Regions from separate parts of the Homo sapiens genome. Here regions 1 and 3 are each linked to region 2. Evidence: promoter capture Hi-C in 16 types of primary human blood cells and fetal thymus (Javierre and others, 2016). All regions are on one chromosome and are shown on one strand. The core of a region is centred on a gene start or on the middle of the fragment in contact, and the rest is flanking DNA. Distances in the headings are between cores, read along the strand shown.

Region 1 (4,966 bases), core at 2,467-4,966, 150 kb after region 2:
GCCTGTAATCTCAGCACTTTGGGAGACCGAGGCGGGTGGATTGCTTGAGGTCAGGAGTTTGGGACCAGCCTGACCAACGTGGTGAAACCCTGTCTCTACTAAAAATACAAAAATCAGCTGGGCATCGTGGCAGGCACCTGTAATCCCAGCTACTCAGGAGGCTGTGGCAGGAGAATCACTTGAACCCAGGAGGCAGAGGTTGCAGTGAGCCAAGATCACGCCACTACACTCCAACCTGTGTGACAGAGCAAGACTGTGTCTCAAAACAAACAAACACACAAACAAAATACACATGGCAAACAGGTACATGAAAAGGTGCTCAACATCACTGATTATCAGAGAAATGCAAATCAAAACTACAATGAGATATCACATCACCCTAAAGTTGCTTTTATCCAAAAGACGGGCAATAACAAATGGTGACAAGGAGAAAAGTGAGAAAAGGGAACCCTCATACACTATTGGCAGGAATGTAAATTAGTATAATACTATGGAGGACCATTTGGAGGTTCCTCAAAAAACTAAAAATAAAACTACTATATGATCCAGAAATCTCACTACTAGGTATATACTGAAACAAAAGGAAATCAGTATATTGAAGACATATCGGCACTCCCATGTTTGTTGCAGCACTATTCACAATAGCCTACATTTGGAAGCAACCTAAGTGTCTGTCCACAGAAGAATGGATAAAGAAACTGTGGTACATATACACAACGGAGTACTATTCAGACACAAAACATGAGATTCCTGTCATTTGCAACAACACGGATGGAACTGAAGGTTATGATGTTAAGTGAAATAAGCCAGGCAAAGAAATACAACATCGTGCGCTCTCTTATTTGTGGAAGCTAAAAAAATTAAAACAATTGAACTCATGGAGATAGAGAGTAGAATGATAGTTACCCAGAGGCTGGGAAGTGTAGTGGGGGGTGGGGAAGGGGAGACCGGGGATGGTTAATGTGTACAAAAGAATATAAATGAGATCTGGTTATCTGATAGCACAAGGTGACTACAGTCAACAAGAACTTATTGTACATTTAAAAATCACTAAAAGAGTATAATTGGATTGTATGTAACATAAAGAAACGATAGGCCGGGCACGGTGGCTGACGCCTGTAATCACAGCACTTTGGGAGGCCAAGACAGGCGGCTCGCCTGAAGTCAGGAGGTCAAGACTAGCCTGGCCAATATTGTGAAACCCTGTCTCTACTAAAAATACAAAAATTAGCCAGGCATGGTGGTGGGCACCTGTAATCCCAGCTACTCGGGAGGCTGAGGCAAGGAGAATTGCTTGAACATGGGAGGCGGAGGTTGCAGTGAGCCAAGATAGCACCACTGCATTCCAGCCTGGGCGACAAGAGTGAAACTCTGTCTCAAAAAAGAAAAAAGAAAGGATCAATGCTTGAGGTGATGGACACCCCATTTACCCTGAAGTGATTACTACACATTCCATGTCTGTATCAAAATATTTCATGTACCCCATAAATATAAACACCTACTATGTACCCACAAAAAAATAAAAATTAAAAAATAAAAAGATCTAGCTTTGCGTTTCATTATTTTTTTCCTATTTTTAATTTCATTGATTTCTGATTCCTCCCCCCATCTTGCTTTAGGTATTGCTCTTTGTCTAGTTTTCTAAGGTGAGAGCTCAGATAATTCATTTTAGATTTTCTTTTCTAACATACATTTAACACTGCTAAGCAACTGCTTTTATTAAACCCCACAAATTTTGATGTATTTTCATTTTCATTTATTCTTCTGTTTGTCTTTGCATTTCAGTTTGGGAAGTTTCTCTTGATATAACTACAAATTCACCAATTCTTTCTTCAGTGGTGCCCAGACTACTGATAAGCCCACTAAAGGAATTCTCCCTGTTACAGCTTTTTTCTCTAGCCTTCTCTTTTGATTCTTTCTTAATTTCCATGTCTCTGCTTACATTACCCATCTGTTCTTACACACTGTCCATTTTCCATGAAAGCCCTTAGCATATTAGTTATTTTAAACTCTCAGTTTGACAATTTCAAAGTTCCAATACATCTTGCCACATCTGAGTCTGATTCTGATGCTTGCTTTGTCTCCTCAGACTAATTTTTCATTTTTTGTTAGCATGCATTGTAATGTTTTGTTGAAAGCCAGACAAGATGTATTGGGTCATAGGAACTGAGGTAAATTGGACTTTAGTGTGAGGCATTCTGTTAATCTGCCTAGAAGTTAGGTTATGTTTAATGTTCGCTGTAACTGTAGGCGCCCATTTCCTCTAGTGCTCTTATTTCTGTCTCTTTTGTTGTCCCTGGGTTTCCCCGTTAACTGGGATACTGGGGAAGGGAAGTACTCTACAATCTGATTATATCTCCATTGTTTTATTGGGCCAAATTCCTTAAAGTGTGACCTTCAAAGAGTTTCTTTTTTTTTTTTTTTTAGACAGAGTCTCGCTCTGTCGCCCAGGCTGGAGTGCAGTGGTGCAAATCTCAGCTCACTGCAACCTCCACCTCCTGGGTTCAAGCGATTCTCCTGCCTCAGCCTCCTGGTAGCTGGGACTACAGGCACGTGCCACCACACCCAGCTAATTTTTTGTATTTTTAGTAAAGACAGGGTTTCACCATGTTAGACAGTATGGTCTCGATCTCCTGACTTCGTGATCTGCCCACCTCAGCCTCCCAAAGTGCTGGGATTACAGATGTGAGCCACCAGGCCAGACTCAAAGAGTTTCTTAGCCTTTTCTCTCTTCTTACAGAAACGCTAGAGGGGGCTGGAGGTGGCTAACTTCTAAGTCAAATAAAGCTCTGGTAAAGTAATTTCTCCTGAGGGCAAACCTTTGCTAGGGATAACAGAACACTGTGGTCATATTTAAAAATGGCTACTTTTCCCCTTCCCCTGCCCAAAGCATAAAGGGATTTTTCTCCTATCTTCACCATGAGAGCCTGATGAGGCTTCTGGAGGTAAAACTTACAAAGGTGCAGGGGTCCCTGCAAGACTAGGCCCCTAGGAGTTTTAACTCTCTAGGCACTCCATGCTCAGCCTCCAGCAACTCGTCAATTATGATCTAAGCTTTCCTACCAGTTACTGGCTCCAGCAGCTTCTTCTCCTGGTAAACTGTGATTCTCTGTATACATTTACCTGTCTCTCCAGTTTTTGGAGTGGACTTAAATTCTCTGATGGATCTAAGAGCTGCTGATTTTCAGTTTTTTAGCTTTTTTCATGTTGTGAACACAGGAGTGTTGACTTTCAAGCTCTTGACATGTCAGAGTGGGCCTCAGTTTGATTTTAAGCAACCTGAGTATATTGTTTGCCATCTAGTTCTCTTATCTGGACCACAGCACTTTGTATAGTAAACTTATTTGAAGCAGCTGGTTCACTCTCTAAGTAATTCTTTAACCTTTAGAAAGTAAAATTGCTTAATAATAAGATTCAGTAAAATTGTAGGGCACAAAATTAACATAAAATCCGTAATAATGTATTATGTACACTTGAAAATTGCAAAAAAAAAAAAAAAAAGTAGACATGAGAAGTTGTCAAGAAAAAAACTGAAAGTGCTTAATGGCAAGAAAATACAAGGCTTTACAAAACATTGCTTTGGCCAGGCGTGGTGGCTCACATCTGTAATCCCAGCACTTTGGGAGGCCACAGCATGTGGATCTCTTTAGTCTAGGAGTTTGAGACCAGCCTGGGCAACAAGGCAAAACCTCGTCTCTACCAAAATACAAAAATTTTGTATTTTGCATGGTGGTGCATGCCTGTAATCCCAGCTACTTGGGAGGCTGAGATGGGAGAATCGCTTGAGTCCTGCACAGGAAGGTTGCAGTGAGCCGAGATGGTGCCACCGCACTCCAGCCTGGGTGACAGAGTGAGACCCCATTTCAAAAAATAAGAAGTAAATAAAAATATAAAAATTGCTTTTAAGTTTTTAACTATTTTAACAAAAATTGGCTTAGTGCTGGAGTTCTGAATAGATATTACAGTTGATACTTCAGCAAATGCAGAGCCAAAAATATCAACTGATACACAGTTGCTAAATAATGATTATTTAGGAAGAACAATCATCAAGAAGCTCTGAACTTAAAAGTAAAAAATAAAGTCCTAACTGAAAGACAGACAAGAACATCTTAACATGTGGCTTAGAAAAAGCAAGCATAAGATATTCCGTTAAAATTCATTCACTTAACAAATATTTATAAAATGTTCACTATAAGGCAGACACCATGCTAAATATTCATGGAAGGATATAAAGATGTAAAAATGTAAAAGAGCAAACAGTCTAGAGGAGAGAGAAACTCATAAATCGTCACAATTGTTACAATGGTGGTGCACAGCACAGAACAAAGCATATTTCTTTGTTCGTGGGTAGTACCTGGTAACAAGCAGAGAAAGCTTCACAGAAATGGTGGTTTAAACTGCACTCTGGGCTGGGCATGGTGGCTCACACCTGTAATCCCAGTATTTTTGGAGGCCAGGGCAGGCGGATCACCTGAGGTCAGGAGTTTGAGACCAGCCTGGCCAAGATGGTGAAACACCATCTCTATTAAAAATACAAAAAAAAAAAAAAAATTACCTGGGCGTGGTGGCGCACACCTGTAATCCCAGCTACTCAGGAGGCTGAGGCAGGAGAATCACACGAACCTGGGAGGCAGAGGTTGCAGTGAGCCGAGACTGCGCCAGTGCACCCCAGCCTGAATGGCAGAGTGAGACTCTGTCTCAAATTTTTAAAAAAATGACAAATAAATAAACTGCAGCCTGCATTACCTATTAGCCTCTTTCCCTTCTCCTAAGTCACTCCTCATCATAGAAGAAGTGAGTTAGAAAAAGAGTATGCATGCAAGTGACTGCATATGAATATGTAAATGCATGGAAAAAGGACAGGGGAACAGACTTAACTAGTAACAGTCTCTGGAGGTGGAAGTCAAAGACACCTTTCTCTAGTTTGTCCCTGGATCTAAGGCAAATAAAAGGATACCTTAAAAAA
Region 2 (4,552 bases), core at 569-3,068:
CAGAGGTTGTTGGGAGGCCCTTCCCACTACTGAGGCTCTGAGTTCGGGGACTCCAGGTTTCAGCCAGAGCTGGTAGCTTCTTTACCCGACCTGCAGTCTGTGTTCTGAGAGGAAGGAGCGCGACTATCCCCATGCCAGGAGTCTGCTCAGCCTGCCCCAGATGGGAGCCACTGGAAAAACGGAAGGGCTTGGCTGGCCTTTGGGGAAGAAGGGTCATGGTGGCAGCAGGCAGTGTCCCTCAGCAAAGCCCCGCAGAGGGCAGTCTGGGCTCTCACAGGCACTGCAGTGGTCTTTCCTGTGGTGGGTACCTGAGTTCTCAAGCCCTGAAGCTGCCTCACTCTCTTCTGCCCACAGCTCTCAGCGACTCACAAGTCCCGGCCCATGCCCAGGTGCGGGTGGAGAGATGATTCTCAATCGCCTCCCACTCTCTGGTGACGCAGAGGCACGGGCCCAACCTGGCCATCACCCAGCTTCTCCCATGTTCTGAAATGCCTGGTCCGACCTGTTCTGGGAACACAATGCCAGCCAGTGCCCATTTGAGGCCCATGGCCCCAGGCCCCCCATGCAGGGCCTGAGGCCTTAGATGGCCTTGGAAACCCACTTCTCAGGGCTTTTGGCTCCAGGGGAAACCCCTGACCATTTCAGCCAGGTGGGTGTCTTGTCCTCCCCTTGAGACACAGTCCCCAGTCCCCATGCCGGTGGCACCAGAGGACACTGGTGTAGTGTGCGTTTAGTGATATGACTCCGTCCACCCTACTGGCGGCACCGACCCTCCGCTTCCAGCCCTGTTAACAATCTACGTAAGTCCTGCTTTCCCCAAATAGATGCGGCCCCGCCACATGAAAGCCCTCTGCTCAGCCACCACTCCCCGAGCCTGGCTTTGCCTGGCCTGCTGCAACCAACACAGCCAGCTGCCAGCCTGGCTGCCCAGCAGAGCCTGAATGAGAGGTCACCCGACACTGGCCCGGGAGTACACGGTGGCCCCAGCAGACACCTCCTTCCGTGTCTGGGCAGGGTGTGTGCAGCCGAGGAGCCAAGGCTGCAGAGCACCCCTACCGGTCCCTTTCACCCCCTGGCCCGGCCCAGCAGGACGTACACAGACCCTTGCATCTTGGTCTCCGCAGCGCCGGGTGGGGTGGGGAGCCTAGGGCCGGATTCTGGCAGCTCTCTCCCCCAGACAAGGGTGGATGTGCAGACCGCTCAGAAGGACCTGCATGGCCGAGGAAGGAAGGTGGGCGCAGAAGCCACCCTAGGCGTGACGCGTGACGCTCGGGGCACGGGCGCCGGGGGGCGGAAAGCGAGGGCCCGGCTGGGCCAGGGATACCCGGGGGGGGCCGAGGTCCTGGGCTCCGGCGGAGGGAGGGGATTGGGAGGGAGGCCACCGCCTCGGGCCACGCGGGTGACCCGGCGGGGGAGCTGGGGGAGGGGCGGCGGGGCTGGGCTGGGGTCCCCGGGCCGGGACTGGGGTCGGGCCAGCTTACCTCCTCGCCCTGGCCGAAGCGCAGTCCGAGCGCCGCGACGCGCTCCACGCGCAGGAAGCCGTCGGGGTCGCGGCCGCACACCTCGAACACCTCGCGCAGGCGGCGCACGGAGCGCAGCAGAGCCGCGGGGGCGCCCGACCAGCCCGCGCCGCCCGCCATCCGGGCCGGCCCGCAGCTCAGCCCGGACCCCTCGCCCGCCGCGCCCGCCGCCTGCCCGCCGCCGCCATCGCCGCGCGCCCTCCGGGGCCGCCCGTCTGGGTCTGCGCCGCGCAGCCTCCGCCCGGTGGCGGCCGCGGCCGATCCGTGTCAGCAGCGGCGCCGCAGCCCCAGCCGCTCCGGAGGGGAAGGGAGGGGAGGGGAGGGAAGGAGAAGAGTGGGGAGGGGAAGGAGGAGGGGCAATAGGGGGCGGGGAGGGGAGGGGCGGGGGCCGCGGCGAAAATGGGAGGGAGAGGGGGAGGCGGCGGGGGCGGCGGCGGCGGGGACGCTGCAGACAAAAGGAGCCCGCGTCCTCCCGAGTGGGGCGGCCCACGCGGGGCCGGCAGGCGCAGCGAGCTGCCAACGGCCGCGTCCTCCGCGACCTCAGTTTCCCTCCGCGTCCCCAGTTTCCCTCCGCGTCCCCGAGCCCACCCCTTCCTCTGGACACCCGGAGCCACCCAAAGGCCCTGCCCTGCCGGAGGATTCCGCGGGGTCGCGCCCCTTTCCGCTATCCGTGCCCGCTGCCGCGCCTGGCGTCTCCCGAGCGCTCAGGATGTCCTGGGGGCCTCCTGCATTGGCGCGTTCCGTGACTGCATTCATCCCGGAGGAAGCTGAGGCCCAGAGAGGTCGGACTCACTCTAGGCCACACAGCTGGCAAGAGGCAGGGCCGGGATTCGCTGCCATCTCTGGAGGGCTCTGGACTCCGTTCTTCACCTCCGCCCTGCGGTCTCCCGGCGCTCTCCTGCAAGACAGCACTTGTGGGGCCATCGGGCGGGGGAGGGCACAGAGAGGAGGAGCAGGCAACTGAACCCCAGCCTGGACCCGGGACCCTGCGACGGGGAGATGAGGAGAAAACCAGGATGAGGCCGGAGGGAGGAAAAGCGAGGCGCTTCCAGAGGCCTGCCTGTTCAGGGCCCAAGGCTGCTCCACGCCTGGAAGAGGCTTCCTCCCTTTCGCCGGGTTCCCACCATCACACCTCCCTGGCAGCCCGCATGCCCCAAGCTCAGAGAATCCAGGACAGAATCTCTGTCCCGCTGGCCGCAGGCTCTAGGTCAGGACCCTGGCCTCCTCCCATTAGTGCTCAGCGGAGCCTCCACCCCAGCTTGTGCTAACTTCCCAGCCCAGCCTCGGGGCCCTGCAGGACCCGGCCGGGCTCTTCTCTCCACCTTCTTGCTCGGCACATCAGGTCTTTGTGGCAACGACTGGCCCCAACCCAAAAAAAGGCCTTGGCTGAGTCTACTCCCACCTATGCTGTCATGCTCAGCACAGAGGTTTCCTCCTCCGGGAAGGCTTCTCTGATGGCACGCCATCTTATCTTCTATTCTGAGTTCTAAGCCCTTCTTCCAGGTGCCCAGTTAATTCTTAATTCTCTAGTGGGATGCCCATTTCCCCTACCATGCTGGGAAGCCCTCCAGGGCAAGATATGTCTTAATTACCTTCAAGTCCCTGATCTCCAGGCAAGAGTGGGCCCAGAGGAAGCCCCACCCAGAGGGGATGGGCCCGCCCATTATGTGAGGAGCCGGGAGCAACGTAGTGGCGCAGACAGGGAGTACGGGGTGAACTGCATGGCCTCCCCTAGCTGGGCCTCGGTTTGTACCTCTGTGGTCTTCCTGCTCAACCCTGAATATATCCTGCGCAGGGACTGCCATTTGCCTTCTGACAGTGGGCGGGGACCTCTTCTTTCCAGCCCCGGCTCCTGGGATGAACCTGGCTTTTAGCTACTCTCCTTTGACCCTTCAGTTCGTCTGAGAGCCACGAAAGGCAACACCTCTTGGGAAGAGAGACCTGTGGTTCTGAGGATTGAGGAGTCCGAAATGTGAGAAAGCGGGAAAGGGGAGGCCGTGGGAGTGGAGTAGGGGTATTCGGCTGAGTAGGAGCGTCTCTGCTAGCTGGATGCCGCTCAGCAGGATACTAGCATATTTTAGCCGGTTTCCTCGCCTGTACCGTGAGGATAATAGTACCTTCCTTTTAGGGCAACTGAAGATGAGAGCGAATCTAAGCAATGCTGCTTTCCCCCGACCTACCCTGCAAAATGGAGGTGGAAGTGGAGAATAAGGACAAGCAGCTGGCTGGGAGAGACTGGCTGCTGGAGATCCAGCCAGCCCCCTGGCAAGGAGGTAGGGAGTGGAAGCTGGGGGCTGCTGCCTGCCCCTGGGACCCCGATATTAGTTCGTCCAAGGTCAGCTCGTGCCATTTTCTCTCACCCAAGGGGCTCAGCACAGAAAGGAGATGGCCAGGAGCTGGGGCTGCCCCCTGGTGGGGGCTGCAGAAATGGCTCTCCGCGCTCAGCCTGGCATTGAATGCCCCCTAACTGGGGACAGGGGAGCTGGAAGACTCACCCACTTCAGCTGGCAGAGGCGGGGACCTCAGACCTGAGCATGAACAAATCCCAAGTGAACCAAGACAGAATCCCGCAACCAGATTAGCCAGTTCTTGTCAAAGACAGGATCATCACAAATTCAAAAATCCCCCAGGAGAGCTTTCCCTGACCGGACTCTCCTTGCCCAGGTCTCTGCAGTTTTGTCTCTGGTGGGCGATGGTTTGAAGGACACCTGCCTCCCCCACCAGTGGCACTGGGTCTCTTGCTCACCGCTGTGCTGCTGGGGCCAGCAAAGCACGTCACAGGCATTCTTTCTGGGGTTGTCACGTTTTTGTTGAGCACCTACGTTGTGTTGGGTATGCTAGGGAGACAGTGAAAGGGGTGCAGCCACTTGCTGAACTTGATGGGGGCAGTCATGGCCCAGTGTGATCTACACTGAGGTGCCAGGCTCTAGGAGCCCAAGAGGGCCTGCAGAAATGGCTGAGTGCCTACCCAAAGGTCCCTCAGAGATGGTGCAATTTATGGAGTCCTTGGGTCCTTGGAAGTGGACCTGGGA
Region 3 (4,345 bases), core at 1,750-4,249, 180 kb after region 2:
CAAACATTTCAAATATTAAAAAAATACTACAAAGGTACAAAGGAGAAGTTATGGCTCAACATTCATATAAAAAGGGCCAAAGAGTTTAAATAACTAAAAAGTCAACATAAAATAATAATACTATCTTAGATTGTATTAATAGAAACAGGGTATACAAACACAGCAGTTTAATAGCTTTTATCAATTATTACATCATAGTATTATATCTGTATCACTAACATCAGATCTTAATATGGCATTTTAATTTTAAAAATTTTTGTCAGGTTGGTCTTTCCAGAAGAGAAGCAAATCAGAAACAGGAGGGTTTTTTGTTTTTTGTTTTTGTTTCTTTGAGACAGAGTCTCGCTCCGTTGCCCAGGCTGACAGTGCAGTGACACAATCTTGGCTCACTGCAACCTCCGCCTCCCGGGTTCAAGCAATTCTCCTGCCTCAGCCTCCTGAGTAGCTATAACTACAAGTGCCTGCCACCACGCCTGCCTAATTTTTTTGCATTTTTAGTAGAGACAAGGTTTCACCATGTTGGCCCAGTTGGTCTCAAACTCCTGGTCTCAAGTGACCTGCCCGCCCCGGCCTCCCTAAGTGCTGGTATTATAGGCATGAGCCACTGTGCCCGGCCTGTACGAGGATTTTGAAACCACATCAAGTAAGAAATTCATTCCTTCATTCATTCTGCAAACATGTACTAAATGCCCAATATGTATCAGATGTTGTTCAAACGTTAGGGATTCAGTGTTGATTAAGCCAGACAAAGCTACTGCTTTCATCAAGCTAACTTGCTAGTGAAGAAGGACAACTAAAGAACCTGATAAAGACACTGAACTGAATGTCAAGAAACCTCAGAACTAACTCTGGTTGACTGTTCATTAACCATGCATTTGTTATTAATATAACTTTATTTAAGCTTCAGTTTCTTTAGCTATAAAAACAGACCCAACAAACACACATACAGTTTTAAAGAGAGCTAAAAGAGGCCAGGCACAGTGGCTCATGCCTATAAGCCCTGCATTTTGGGAGACTGAGGCAGGTGGATCACCTGAGGTCACAGTTCAAGAGTAGCCTGCCCAAAATGGTGCTAAATGGTCTACTAAAAACACAAAATTAGCTGGCATGATGGTGGGCACCTGTAACCCCAGCTAGTCGGGAGGCTAAAGCAGGAGATCACTTGAACCTGGAAGGTAGAGGTTGGAGTGAGCCAAGATTGCATCACTGCACTCACTCCAGCCTGGGTGACAGAGTGGGACTCGGAGTGGGACTCTGTCTCAAGAAGAAAAAAAAAGAGAGAGAGCTAAAAGAATAAAATCCCTTCCAATGCCAAAACGATATAAAAATAAAACGAATTCTAGGAGTACAGAATAACCTTATTCAAATATCTGCAGGGCCACCTTGTGGAAGAATCAGAAGTATTCTATAGAGCTCCAACAGAAAGAGGATCAGTGATGGCTGTAAGTGACAGAGACATGATTCTATCTTGGTCGAAGAGAAAATTTTCAAATAATTAGCTCCTTCCAACAAGTAACTTGTCTCTCCAAAATACAAAGTGTTAGTAAAGCCTTGAAGCAGATATTATTTTACTTTTACTGTTTTGCAACAGAACTCCTAGATTGCTACTTCTGAAGCAAGCTAATGGCTCAGGTTTATCAGTCCCAAATCATTTGAGGCAATACAAATGAGGGACAACCCACTGAACATACTCTGTAATACAGTAGTTCTCAACTGGGGGTGATTTTGTCCCCCAAGGGGCATCTGGAAATGTTTGGAGACATGTTTGGTTTTCATGACTTGGAGGGCTGGGGGGTAAAGGGAATATTGGCATCTAGTGGGTAGAGGCCAGAGATGCTGCTGAATATCCCACAATGCGCAGTACAGCCCCCTATAACAGAGTTATCCAGTCCAAAATGTTAATAGTGCCAACAGTAGGAAACTCTGATGTTAGGTATTATCTGTAAACCATTTATTATATATATTTGCCTGTGTTGCCAGACTCCATGCCACCTGTAGTGAGTTTTTTTGTTTGATTTTTTTTTTGAGACCGATTCTCGCTCTTGTTGTCCACACTGGGGTGCAATGGCGCCATCTCAGTTCACTGCAACCTCTGCCTCCCAGGTTCAAGCGATTCTTCTGCCTCAGCCTCCTGAGTAGCTGGAATTACAGGGATGCACCACCACGCCTGGCTAATTTTTGTATTTTTAGTAGATATAGGGTATCACCATGTTGGCCAGGCTGGTCTCGACCTCCTGACCTCAGGTGATCCGCACACCTTGGCCTCCCAAAGTGCTGGGATTACAGACGTTAGCCACCGTGTCCGGTGTTGAGTTCTTCATTAGACATTTTCAAGCAAAAGCTATAAACCTTTTGCTTGGAATCTCGGTGAGGGGAAGTGCTGTGTATGTTTAGTTCACCATGCTTCCCTGGCATTAGCACCTTTGCCTGGCAAAGAGTAGAAGGTCAATACTTCCATACTGGTTATCTGACTGTTAACTCACCAAGTTTATGAAGGGTGAGATTTTACCCTAACAGCCATTCAAAACCTAAAATTTTCTTATTCTAAAAATTGTTTCATATTACATTTGCTATTTATTTTCTCTCCTGGTAATATCAGCCCAAAAGCTGTCCTTTAGTCATTATGTACAAATATACATACATATAACATTTCAAAAACATAAACAGCTTAGGAATGATTTTGAAAATTAAATGTATATTGATATTTTCAGAAAATAATTAGAAATAAAAACTAAATTCTTATTACAGGTGTCCTTGAGCCAAAAGAGGAAATCCTCTCTAGTTATGGCTTTTCGGTAAAATAATATGTAGCTCTGAGAATCAGCTTATAACTAGGGCTAAGAAGTAAAATAACTTCTAAGTGTAGAGAACATATTTAGACTACCAATCAAATTTTACCTCTGTTCAAAATAATCATTTAGTTTCATTTTTAGTCCTTATTCACAGAAAATTATGGGCAGCTGGTAAAGTGGATATTGAAGTTAAATAGGAAGTGAATATTAACCCCCCAACAAGTCCTATTATTGGAGGTCATTAACTTTCTACCAGAAAAGGTAGTAAACTTAAAGCAAAAAAGTCAAATAAACTTCTGATTTCCCAGATCTCTGGAATAAACAGGTCAATAAATAACTTTTAAACAACTTATTTCAAGTAGTTTTAAAAGATTTTTTAAAAATATCTTATTAAATGACATTTAAACAGCTATTATTTATGCTTACCTCCAATTAACTTATACCTGTACTGAAAATTTCTTCAACTTAAAAAAAAGTGAAGTACTTGGCATTACAAAAAGTCAACTAAAAGGTAACCTTGCATTTTAAAGTTTACTTAAGGAAACATCATTGCCATGATCTTTTGGCTATATTTTTTAGGCTCAATAATCCCAAAATATATGACATAAAAAACTTCTCTATTTGAACATCTAAGATAAACAATCCTCAGAAATAATTACTGACAACTGGATAAGAGTGAACCACAACTGTATAAAACCAAAATATTTCACTGACTAAGGGGACTTGGAAAAAGAGAAGCATGCCAGGGAGAAAGCTGTTTAAATTATCTCCTAACTGTGAAATGACTAACTTACTAGATAAAACCAACAGGTGAAGACATGCTATATTTTCAGTTGAAATGACAAGATGTGACTATAATGGTAACTATACACAGAAAAGTCAAAGAAACCAAGGACTTTTCTGATGTAGTTACAATGGGTCATACTTACAGCCACAGAAGCCCACTGCCATGCAAAACAGTGACTGGTTGGCATCTGATCATGTGAGCGACAGCAGCCAATAATAGAAAATAAGAAGCAGAAGACAAAGCACCACCAATCAATGTCAAGAGTTGCTCTTGTATAATACTCTTGCTATACATAAACACCAAAAAAATGACTTCCACAATCTTATAATTATCTTTTTAAATTGATTCCATAGGAGTTTTAAAATTCCATATTAAGAGTAATAATCTGTGAGAATACCCAATTTTAAGTCTGCTTTTTATTAAGTTTAGAGTCAAATGTCAGTATCAAAGTTCCTATCAGTTGTAAAACCTCAAGGCATATTTGTTGAAATACAAAATATTTTTATTTTAAATACAAAAACTCTAAATTTTATTCATTTCCTATGTTTAATAGTCACCATTCAATTAGCTAAAATGTGCATTGGCAGCAACATTCACTCTAACCCAGGAGTCAGCTTCCCTTACTCATCCCCAAAACGTGAGAGGCTAATCAAAATATTTTTGTTCAAAAGTTTTAAGGAGAAAAAAAACTTTAAAAACAGAAAAAAAAGGTGACATTCATTAAGACTTTCAGTGTTTTGTGAGAAAATTTATCTAAGAAAAGTTA

What was found. Contacts are between HindIII fragments. The CHiCAGO score rates a contact against its expected background, and 5 or more counts as called.
Region 1: a fragment that was not itself captured here is called in contact with the fragment with the promoter of RAB11FIP4 in region 2 in 1 of 17 cell types (M1 macrophages); the score reaches 5.3 in M1 macrophages.
Region 3: a contact is called between a fragment that was not itself captured here and the fragment with the promoter of RAB11FIP4 in region 2, in 1 of 17 cell types (neutrophils). The highest score is 5.5, in neutrophils.

What each region holds. Positions count from the first base shown.
Region 1 is chr17:31,236,192-31,241,157 of GRCh38, reverse strand. The region is part of intron 29 of NF1 (neurofibromin 1); the gene reads right to left. Among named protein-coding and RNA genes, the nearest start is that of OMG, 59 kb to the left of the region's middle. The HindIII fragment of the contact is 1,320 bases long and covers 3,057-4,376 here.
Region 2 is chr17:31,388,941-31,393,492 of GRCh38, reverse strand. It overlaps RAB11FIP4 (RAB11 family interacting protein 4), which reads right to left and starts at 1,818. Exons shown (of 15, transcript NM_032932.6): 1 at 1,482-1,818. The coding sequence starts at 1,640. RefSeq lists an enhancer at 2,014-2,603. The HindIII fragment of the contact is 11,828 bases long and covers 1-4,552 here.
Region 3 is chr17:31,206,572-31,210,916 of GRCh38, reverse strand. All of the region lies in intron 12 of NF1 (neurofibromin 1), which reads right to left. Among named protein-coding and RNA genes, the nearest start is that of OMG, 88 kb to the left of the region's middle. The HindIII fragment of the contact is 4,191 bases long and covers 904-4,345 here.